Regions from separate parts of the Homo sapiens genome. Here region 2 is linked to region 1. Evidence: promoter capture Hi-C in 16 types of primary human blood cells and fetal thymus (Javierre and others, 2016). All regions are on one chromosome and are shown on one strand. The core of a region is centred on a gene start or on the middle of the fragment in contact, and the rest is flanking DNA. Distances in the headings are between cores, read along the strand shown.

The links. The method cuts DNA at HindIII sites, captures the fragments that hold promoters and counts their contacts. A CHiCAGO score of 5 or more calls a contact.
Region 2: a fragment that was not itself captured here is called in contact with the fragment with the promoter of UBASH3B in region 1 in 1 of 17 cell types (neutrophils); the score reaches 5.1 in neutrophils.

What each region holds. Positions count from the first base shown.
Region 1 is chr11:122,652,743-122,658,287 of GRCh38, forward strand. UBASH3B (ubiquitin associated and SH3 domain containing B) reads left to right here and starts at 2,980. Exons shown (of 14, transcript NM_032873.5): 1 at 2,980-3,468. The coding sequence starts at 3,308. RefSeq lists an enhancer at 2,885-3,386 and a silencer at 3,590-3,639. The HindIII fragment of the contact is 6,403 bases long and covers 473-5,545 here.
Region 2 is chr11:123,572,798-123,578,342 of GRCh38, forward strand. GRAMD1B (GRAM domain containing 1B) reads left to right here. Exons shown (of 20, transcript NM_001387025.1): 3 at 4,570-4,780. Among named protein-coding and RNA genes, the nearest start is that of SCN3B, 79 kb to the right of the region's middle. RefSeq lists enhancers at 2,982-3,483, 3,484-3,983, 4,582-5,119. The HindIII fragment of the contact is 2,429 bases long and covers 1,733-4,161 here.

The DNA.
Region 1 (5,545 bases), core at 1,730-4,229:
GCTTTCCCTTCTGAGGGAGGAACTTCATGCTGATGTGTCAGCTCTGTCCCTGTGCAAGACCCCTACTCCCATCTCACTTCTTTTGGCCACTGTAAGATATACTGCCAGATGAATAGTCATTTCTCTTCTCTCAATTTATTTATTTGTTTAGAGATGGAGTCTTGCTCTGTCACCAGGCTGGAGTGCAATGGCATGATCTCAGCTCACTGCAACCTCCGCCTTCCAGGTTCAAGCGATTCTCCTGCCTTAGCCTCCGGAGTGGCTGGGACTACAGTCACATGCCACCATGCCCAGCTAATTTTTGTATTTTTAGTAGAGATTGGGTTTCACCTTGTTGGCCAGGATGGTCTCGATCTCTTGACCTTGTGATTCGCCCACCTCAGCCTCCCAAAGTGCTGGGATTACAGGGGTGAGCCACCGCACCCAGCCCCCCTCTTCTCTCTTTGTAATAGAACAGTGTAGACATTTATGAAGCTTTTCCTAGCTTTTCAACGTCAACACAATTAAAGCACAATGCATCTGAATTGCCAGCCCCCCAACCCAGTGCAGAACAAATGGCAGGAGTCCTAAATAAAACAGGGGTTTGCACTGAGCTGAAGACAAGTGAGGAAGCCAAGCTGGGATTTCTGTAAAAGTGTCCCAGACAAAAACAGTTTGCATCTCAGGTGCCTAGTTTTTCATAGTGCTTTTTCCAGTCTACCTAAAACTATTTTTATATGCATCATTTCCTTTATCTTACAGTTTGCCTAAAGGCAGGGAGAAAGACAATTAATTCAATTTTTCTGGAGAAACAGAGATCCAGCAATTCTATGTCAAGGGGCATAGATGGAGTCAAAAAACTATCTTAAAGGCTGGTGTCCTTTTATCATCATAACAATGGTCGTTAACTAGTTGTTTGGCCAAATGTTAAGAGTTCAAATCTTGGCTCTGCCATTTACTAGCCATGTGACCTTGGACAAGATACTTGACCTCTGGCTCAGCACCTTCATTTGTAAAGTAGTTCCTAGTTCATAGTCTTGTCAAGGAATTGTTTGAGTCACATATGTAAGAAGCAAAGAACAACACCAGCATATAGTAAGTACTCAATAAATTTGAGTTATCATTTATGTAGCGCTTTATGGTTTACAAAGCGCTTTCACATACATTATTATCTCTTGACTAAGATCCAGATCATTTGACTTTCAGCCCAGGCATTTGGAAACAATTCAGAATACTGGATAAAATCCAGCATGTTTTACCGAACACATCCAAGGAGGCTAATACTAGGTATGGTGTTGCCAGCCCAGTCTTGTCTTTTTGCTCCATGTCCTGGAAGAGCATTCTGCAAGGTCTCCAGGATATCCCCTTTGCTCTGGAAGCAGCTACTACCCAGGAAGCATTAATTTTCCCTCATCCTTTGTACAGCAGGAGGCAGAATTAATACACATTGTTGCTTAAGCTCCAGCTGTCTTATCTCCCTGCTTCCAAACACCACTGGCTATTCTTTAGGAAACCAATTCCGGGCTCAGGGAGTTACACTGTATCATTTCCCCTGGTAAAACCTTCACAGGCCTTATAAAGCAACCTCAAAAAGCCACTCCATGGGTGCTGGTCACCATCCCTCCCCCATATTCCAACCAGGGACAGGCCCGGACTGACATTTCTGGAAAACCCAGTGTGTGCAAGGTTAGGTTACCACGGTCCATACCAATGAGGAAATTAGGCTGTAGAGAGAAGTAACTTGTCTAAGGCACCGCAGTGGATACGAGTGCTGTAGCTACGCACTTACCAGCTCTATGATCTTCCCCAACCTCTCTGAGCTGAGTTTTCTCATCTGTAAAACTGGGATAATGATTAAACACACTCCTAGGGTCAGTATAAAACTTCAGTGAGTTCATTCATTACGATTAGCACAATGACTGGCACATACAAGAGCCCAATAAATGTTAGGTTTTATTATTATTATTACCCAAAAAAGACTATCAGTTAGGGTGTACTCATTGCCTCTTTCATTATAGCAAGTGGGACCCTTGTCCCTGACTGAAGACAATGACTTTGTTTCCAAACGAAAGAGGGTTAGCATCCCCCAGCCAAATTCACCAGGTGGGGCATGGGGCATCAATATGGTTGTGGCTTCCACCATCTTTGCAGTGGGAGTAGTTTTGTCCAGCCTATGATACAATTCACTTATTATTGTGCAGTGGTGATTCGGTCCGTCTTTGAATCCTTTTATTGACAGGATATCCACTCCCTAATGAAATAAGCCCGTTCCCTTTTGAACACCTCTTATAATTAGGAAGTATGTTTTCTCTGTTCCTTCTTCCTCTACCCTCCTAGCCCTTCCTTCTTCTCCTCCTCCTTCCTCCTTTCTTTTTCCCTTCCCTCTTCTTTCTGCCCTGTCCCTCTTTTCTTGTCCCCTCCCAGGTCCTGCCACCTCTGAGAACCTGAGGTCCTTCTCCCCAACCCCTCTGCCCCACCGGGAAGGCACTATTCAGTCACTGACCATAACCTTGTAGAGCGCAGTAGGTCTTTAGTGCAGCCACTTGGCCGGCTGATTGGGAACTCAACTTCCGATGGTCCTAACAACCCTTTGGGTTTTGCAGGATCTTTGAGAAGCAAAACCTTTTACCTAGGCCTTACGGCTTGGCCTTCTGGTCCATTAGTATCATCCACCAGTTCACCCAATTTCCATTAATAACCGCATCTAGAATCACATGAAACTTGAGATGGGTTGATCTCCTGTCTTGAGGCCCAGCTGGGCGGGTATGCCAGCCAAGGAGAGGGCTGGGGCGCCGGGGGTGACTCTCGGGAGGTGAAGCACACAAGCAGCCCATAAGGTTGGGATCCTCCGTCTCCAAGTAGCGCGACTACAGCTCTTGCCCGCACGGAGCAGCCTCGGACAGCGCGGCCGCTTTAAGAGAGGGGCGGGGCCCGGGTACAGGCAAGTCAGGGCCAGCCCACAAGGCTCCTTTTCCTTTTTGATCCATTCAAAAATTACTCATTGCAAATTCCCGGACTGCTAGGCGAGGAGAGGGAAGGGGGCGGAGGAGACAGGGCTACTGCAGGCGCAGAGCTGGGGGCAGCCGGGGGCCCGAGTGGCTGAGGCTGGTCCCGCAGCGGCCGCTTGCCGGCGTTCTGGCTCCTGTGGCCTCACCAGGAAGCGTCAGAGTCCCGACACTGGGGAAGCTCGGAGCGCCGCCTCCGCTGCCGCCGCCTCCTGCCTGGCTCTGGGTCCCCGAGCCCCCTCCCCTGGCCCAGCCCGACTCCCTCCTCCTTCCCGAACCATCCGGCTCGGGCTCCTTCCCTGGCGATGGCTGGCCGCTGAGCCATGGCTCAGTACGGCCACCCCAGTCCGCTCGGCATGGCTGCGAGAGAGGAGCTGTACAGCAAAGTCACCCCCCGGAGGAACCGCCAACAGCGCCCCGGCACCATCAAGCATGGATCGGCGCTGGACGTGCTCCTCTCCATGGGGTTCCCCAGAGCCCGCGCGTAAGTGGCCGGGCTCGCAGCCCTCGGCGACCCCTCCCGCGCGCGCGGCCGGCCCTCGGCTTCGCTCCGGCTCGCCTCCCAGCGCCTGCGGGACAGGCAGCGCGCTCCCCGCTGCCCGAGACCTGTTGGGGGCGGGATGGGCGCGCTGGCAACCCGGGACTCGGCTCCGGGCGGGGGTGCGGGGGAAGACGCGGCGCGGGGGCGTTGGGCCAGGGCTCGCCGTGGGATGCCTAAAGCTGGGGGACGAGGGCGCGGGGTTCGAGTCCCGGGTATAGTGCTCAGCCTCCGCCCCAGCCGGGTGGAGCTCAGCGTTTCTCTCGCGCGCTCCCCTAGGTCTCCAGCGCCGAGCGCCTAGGGAGGCGGGGCCCTGCGGAGGACTCGGGCACCCTCTCCGTCTGGAATACTGGGCTGGTCTGGGATCCTCCGGTGTCTGGGAAAGGGCGGGAGACTGCGGGGCAGGGAGGCCGGCGCCCCCGTTGCAGCGGCTTCCAGCTCCGGATGTCGCTCTCGGGTTCGGTCTCCCCCTGGAGTAGGAGGAGCGGGAGCGTGGGTGTTCCTGCGTGTTCATTGATGGGGAGGATGGAATCAGAAGGAGAAGCGATCCCTCCAGGGGACCTGGGTTCTCGTCAGTGGTGACGGCAGCTCAGAAATCTGTGGGTGCCTGAGAGTAAGGAGGGGGAGCTGTTCTTCATCCTTCCTCTAGGAGAGTGGGGTAGGGGAGGGCAGGGAGAGCGCAGGTGGCTGCCCCTGGAGCCTGCTGGGGAGAGGCCTGTTTGCCAGCATAGGGTGGCGGCGGCCGGAGTCGTCTCAGGCCGGTCGGCTCAAGTCTCAGGGGCTGGAACTCTGCCTAAGAGGAAGCCAAGGCCCAGCGGCCAGGCCCTTCTCCCCTGGTTAATCCCTGCCGTGCAGATTTCTTAGGTGGGGACACAAGGCCTGGCGTCCGGACTGGGCGCAGCTTCTTTTCATCTTTGAATTACAGCACCTGAACAGGAGAGTTGGCCAAACTTAATCAGTGAGGGCCAAGTAAATGAAAGTCCTTTTTATTTTTTTCCCTTCTCACATTTTTTTTTCAGGTGATAACTTTATTTATGTATTTATTTTTCTGAGACGGAGTCTCGCTGTGTCGCCAGGCTAGAGTGCAGTGGCGCAATCTCTGTAACTTCCGCCTCCCAGGTTCAAGCGATTCTCCCACCTTAGCCTCCTGAGTAGCTGGGACCATAGACATGCGCCACCACACCGGGCTAATTTTTATATTTTTAGAAGAGATGGGGTTCTGCCATGTTGGCCAGGCTGGTCTCGAACTCCTGACCTCAGGTGATCCACCCACCTCGGTCTCCCAAAGTGCTGGGATTACAGGCAATAACTTTATGTCTCCCCTCCCTTATCTCTGGGCAAACCTTGTTTATTCTCTACTAACTTGGTTGTAATCTGTTAATCAAAGTAGACCCTTGAATTTGTTATTCTCCAGGCTGCTGGGACACGTTGGAGTGGCCTTAGAAGGCTGCAAAATGGACTGATGGTTTCTGCCTTCCACTGACGTCCCAATACGACTTCCTAATACTAGGGCTCCAGTTCCTGATACCAGAATTACAGGGAGAAAATGTGGGTTCTGCAGGGGTGTGTCAGGTGTGGACGCTTCAGGTGAAGTCGTCGGTGTGGATGATCAATGTGCACAGCTCTCCTTAAAAACTGGAGGTGGGGCTGGGTGTAACCCCAGCAGTTTGGGAGGCTGAGGCAGCCGGATCACTTGAGATCAGAAGTTTGAGACCAGCCTGGCCAACATGGTGAAACCCTGTCTTTACTAAAAATACAAAAATTAGCTGGGTGGGGTGGTGCATGCCTGTAATCCCAGCTACTTGGGAGGCTGAGATAAGAGAATCGCTTGAGCCCAGTAGGTGGAGGTTGTAGTGAGCCAAGATCGCACCACTGCACTCTAGCCTGGGTTACAGAGCGAGACTTCATCTCAAGAAAAAAAAAAAAAAAAAGCTGGAGGTGGGAGTGGGGAAGTCAGCTGGGGAATGCTGCAGAATTAGCATAGTCTCAGGCTACTGCCTTTTTTGAAATAAGGCCAGCATTA
Region 2 (5,545 bases), core at 1,697-4,196, 920 kb after region 1:
AGGCGCAGGTAGGCCCCGATGGCTGGGGCAGGGGCGCAGGTAGGCCCCGATGGCTGGGGCAGGGGCACAGGTAGGCCCCGATGGCTGGGACAGGGGCGCAGGTAGACCCCGATGGCTGAGGCAGAGGCACAAAGAGGCCCCGATGGCTGGGGCAGGGGCGCAGGTAGACCCCGATAGCTGAGGCAGAGGCGCAGATAGGCCCCGATGGCTGGGGCAGAGGCCCAGGTAGGCCCCGATGGCTGGGGCAGAGGCGCAGGTAGGCCCCGATGGCTGGGGCAGGGGCGCAGGTAGGCCCCGATGGCTGGGGCAGGGGCGCAGGTAGGGCCCGATGGCTGGGGCAGGGGCGCAGGTAGGCCCTGATGGCTGGGGCAGGAGCTCAGTTAGACCCCGATGGCTGAGGCAGAGGTGCACTGGAAATGTAGCCAGTGTTGGGGTTTTCAGAGGTAGGCTGAGTGAGATAATTGAGGAACATATAGTCTAGAGTTCAGGTTTTATTCCACAGAGGGTGGGAAATTATAGGGGTCTTTAATCATCAAAAAGGATGAAAAAAATGCCAAATCCTCTTTTTAGAAAGTTCACTTTGACAGGAAAAGAGAGAATGGATTGAAGCCTGGAGGCAGGAAGTTGATTCCTTCTTTCTTTGTACTCACCCAGCTACCCACTGTCTTTCCATCTGTGCCTCTTTCTGTCCACCGGGCAAACAAACACAATTGAATGCCTGCTTCCGAAAATGAGCTTGACAATCAGATAGGCCTGTGTTTGAAAGTTTGAAATCTTGCCCTGCCTCCCATCCATCTGTGTGACTTTGGGTGAATTATTTAATCTGTCAAGAATCCAAATATATCACCTGAAAAATGGGACTAATAATACTGTTCTTTGCAACTTCATGGGTTTGTTGGGGGGATTAAACGAAATAATATTTAATAAGTACTCGGTGCTGCACCAGGAGCTCATGAACACTCAATAATGTTTAGTTATTTTTATGAATATTAGCAGGTTGTAGGTACAGATTTGGGAGCCATCTTGATATTCGGAATTGGTAAAGCCAAGGGTATGAAGACTGTCACTAGGATGGGATTCAGTTCAGCGGAAAACATGCCACTTACAGAGCCCTGCTGGGTCGTGTGGGGCGTGCAGAGGGCTGAGCCTCCAGGAGTTTGTAGGTCCTTCATACCAGGCTATGTGCTTTCAGTGCTTTAGTCAGCTCCAAGGTGGAGATTTAGAAAAGCTTTTTGGAGCAAGTGGGATTTGAAATGGGTCTTGAAGAATGAACAGAATTAAAAAAAAAAAAAAAAAGAAGAAAGAGCAGGACTCCAGCAGGGAGATGCAGAGGGCAAGGGCTCTTTAGGCTCAAGTAGTGCGTCGTATGGGAGTTTGGAGGCAGGAGAAAGAGCATGTATATTAAGGGAATTGGGGGAAAGTGTATAGGTGTGGAATATGCAAGCCCTTTAAGAGCATATAAGGAGAGAAAAAGCATAGAGGTGTCATTTACTTTTAGCAGAGAACTTTAGATTCCATTTTGAGGATTTGGGACTTTAATGTGGGAGCTACTAGAACACAGTAAGATGTTGGGCTTGTATTTAGAAAGATTAATGACACAGCTGTGAGTGAGTAGGAAGAGGAAAAGGAGGCAGAGAAGACCACTCAACTGGCTATTTATTGGAAGAGGGTGAGCAGAATTCCTTGAACCTGAACTGGGGCCCTGGGGAAGGAAGGGAAGGATGAGGTAAAAAGCTTTGTAGAAATAGAATTGGTGGAATTCAGTGACTCATTTTTTAGTGGAGTGAGATGGAAGAGAGGGGTCTGCAGCCTGAGAAACCTGGTAATGAAACTGCCATTGAGAATGGGCAGTCGTGGGAGGAGGTCTGGGAGGAAAGATGTCCAGCTCTGTGTTCAGTGTGGGGCACTCATGAGACATTGTCTGGAGGAAGCATCCACCTGGCAGCAGGTTGTTGGGTCAGGCTAGCGACTGTGACCAGGGCCGGAAGCAGGTAGAGGAGTCTCTGCCTGGTTGAAGTTAGAGAAAGCTGGAGACGGCCAGGGAGGTGACAGACTCACCTTTAGGGAAGGATTAATTGCAGGCTGGGTAGCAAGAGTTGAGACAGTAGTTGAGACCGGCAGAGGAGTAGAAGAGAGGTGCTTGTCATCAGGGAGAAGTTTCCAAGAACAGCACAGATGATCAACAGCCTTAAGAGCACAGAGAGATGGTATAAGTTGTTTATTGGCTGATGTGTTGAAGGCAGCATTTTAGGTGTGTAGATCTTTGCATGGTGTGTGTAGAGTGGGCTAAAGTGGGACTGCTGGGCGGTGAGGAGTTCTCATGCTTTGATCATTTCATGTGAGATTCGTGTGGTTTTGGATAGTTGGAGTCAGTTCTCCTCTGGTTAGAGTGTGTTGCCAACCTCTTGCTTGAAGCCAGTTAGCAGGGATTCTGGGTTTGGGGAAGGATGAAGGAATCTCCTTTCCATTCCAGGGTCTGGAATTTGTGAGGAAATTACACAACGGCTGGGGGGCCATTGTGTCTGAGATAGGCATGTACTTGATTGTCATCCTTTTTCTAGTTCTTTTTGAGACAGGATCTCATCATGTTGCCCGGGCTGGTCTCAAACTCGTGGTCTCAAATGATCCTCCTGCCTCAGTCTCCCAAGTAGCTGGGATTACAGCTCATGCCACCACTCCCAACTTCTCTAGTTATTTTTTGAGCAAACTATTATAGTTGGGACTAGAGGGTAGAGGTCCTCGTTGTTCTAGTAACATAATCCTAGAAGACAGTTTAAACCTTGGAATATGTGGTTACGGGCTTGAGTTGGCCCTAGAGCAAGGAGGCTCACCCCAGAAAGACGTGTGTTGGCACCTGCTCTCCACGCTTCCCCAGGGGTTGTGCACTCATGGATCTGCCTGCCACCAGCCCCACGGCCTGGCATCTCTAACCAAAGTAAAGGAAGGTACCTTCCTTTCTCCAGAGTTTATGGTAGCAAACGAGTTTAGAGAGTAAGGATAAGGAATGGGTGGGGCAAAAACGGGAAGAGCCTCTTTTGAAAGAGGCATCTTGGGCCTCCCCCAATAACAATTATTGTTAGTATTAGAAATGAGATTTTAAATGCAAATTCTGTTTTAGGATGAAGTGGAACATTGGGCCTTGCTTTTCTCCATACATATTTGGGGCACATTTATCTTCCTTTTCTCTGGTCTCCTTTTTTTTTCTTTATCAGTTTCCTTCCAAAAGTTACCGCACTGCCTGCCCCCAGCTCCCCTCCTGCCCACACTCGCTGGTTTAGGCTCTTGGGATTTGTTGCCTTTCTCTCTGCTAAGGATGTCCAGGTGGAAGGTTTTGCTGAAAGGGGCATGGTTTTCATTGCAAATGGGGCCAATGGGACATCTGAGGTCACAGCTGCATCTTCATGCAAATGACAGTGTCCCCAGCCCTGCACCCCACTCCCCGAGGGAAGGCTGGGATGCAGCCTGCAGGGGGGTCCAGGGTGTTCCTGAAGCCTGACCCAGCTGAGAGGCTGCTGAGCAGGTGGGCAGGACACCCCAGCAGCCCCGTGCAGGCTTTCCAATCTCACATTTCCTTTCCTTCCCATTTCTGCTGGCACTTTCTACTTAGCCTCTCCCTTTCTCCATCTCTTTCCTTTCTCCACTCTCGGAAGCAAAGCAAACATTCAACTGCATTCAGTTTCTCTCTCCCTTCTGTCTCTCATCTCTTCTTCTAGTCCATTGAAAACGGAAGTGAAATATCAAATAGTCAATATTTTATTTGCAGCTTATAAGCCTTGATGTAAGTGGATTTGGTCCTGTGGGAAGTACAAGGTACTTATTGGGAATAAATGTTGGGGTAAGGGAATATGGAATGTGAGAACTTCGGCTGTGTGCATCTTTACCCTGGGCAGAGGAAGCAGGAACCCACATGGCTTCCTTACAAGGAAATAATATGGTGTGGGTGAGTTACAAATCAGAAGAGCTGCACTTTGTTTCTCTCAACAGTGGGCATTTAGCTTCCCTCTGTCAGGCACTGGTCTTCATTTTTTAACATAGGGATTATGGTACTTGCCATTACTCCCTTGGTGGAATGTTTTAAGAAATAATGCGTATGTGAAGGCTGTGAAAAATAGGATTGTAATTGTTATTTTCATGAACAAAAATATCTGAACAAAATATAGAAGCTTTGCATTTGCAGTATGTATAAAATGAGCTGATTGTATTGGATGGTCTCCAGTGAGCCTTTCAGGTATTAAATTCTATATGCCCCAGACAATTTTTGGCATATAATAGGGGCTCAAACAATAACAGGTTGGACGGACGGATGGACGGATGCATGTCTAGATGTCGATTGCCCGTTGGCTCGTGCGTCTGTGTCCACATGGGCACTGCTGCCCTCCCGTGGCCAACGGCAGTATTACGGTGCGGCAAGCCGCAGCCTGGGCCCCTCTCTCCCGGTTTCTCCCCAGCCCCTCACCTGGCTCCCTGAGCTGGCTCCTTTGGGCTTGTCCTTGGCCTCGATCACTGACTGCCTGCCTTTCCTCCTCCTTCTCTTTCCACCCCGCTCCCTCTCTCCATCTGCCGCTGCAGCACTGCCAGTAACTCCAACCGCAGCACGCCGGCCTGCTCGCCCATCCTCCGGAAGCGGTCTCGCTCGCCAACCCCGCAGAACCAGGACGGAGACACCATGGTGGAGAAGGGCTCAGATCACTCCTCGGACAAGTCCCCGTCCACACCGGAGCAGGGCGTGCAGCGCAGCTGCTCCTCCCAGTCCGGCCGGAGCGGCGGCAAGAATTCCAAGGTGAGCGGGACCCCGTTGAGGCGGTACCTCCTTGTCAGGGGCTGCGGGGAGCGATATTGGGGTGGTGAGCCGGAGAACATCTGCGAGGGTCCTCACGTGATGAACAGCCCTGATGGCTCAGAGACAGTCATTATCCAGTGAGGTGAGGCGGGGCAGGCAGGAGAGACCCTAGTTAAATATCTTCCCCGCTAAGCATTCTTGGTGGGCTGGGCGAGGTAGGGAGGCTCATATTTTTTTTTTTTAGATTTGGAGGGGAGACGCTCTGGGAATCATTAGGGGGTCATCTGCTTATTCCTGCTACCGTTTTCAAATTTGGTTCCTAGAGCCGGGGTAGAAGGCAACATTATTTGGGACATTATACTGCTAGGGAGAGTCCTCAGGGAACCTTGCAGAATGCTATTTTTAACCTCCTCCCCGGCCATCCTTCCTGCCTTACCTTTGCACTAATCCACTTGGTACTCACCTGGCAGAGAGGAGGGTGGCAGGGCCTTTCCATCCTCCCAAGGATGTCAGGACTGCCCCCTGAGTACCGGGGCCCTTGGCCCATGGATATGCCTAAAATAGGCCCCAGGGGGGCCTGGGCTAATTATGGTTCCCCAGAGATGTCTTCCCCACCCTCGGTCCTTTGGGGAGCAGGAGATGTCTTTGCCCAGGGTCTCCTTCAGGAAACTTCTCTTCACCCTGGGACCCCCAGGGCCTGGGAAGGGGTTGGGGACCCCTGGGAGGCATGGGAGCTGGCTTCCCACTTGAATTTGTCTTTTGATT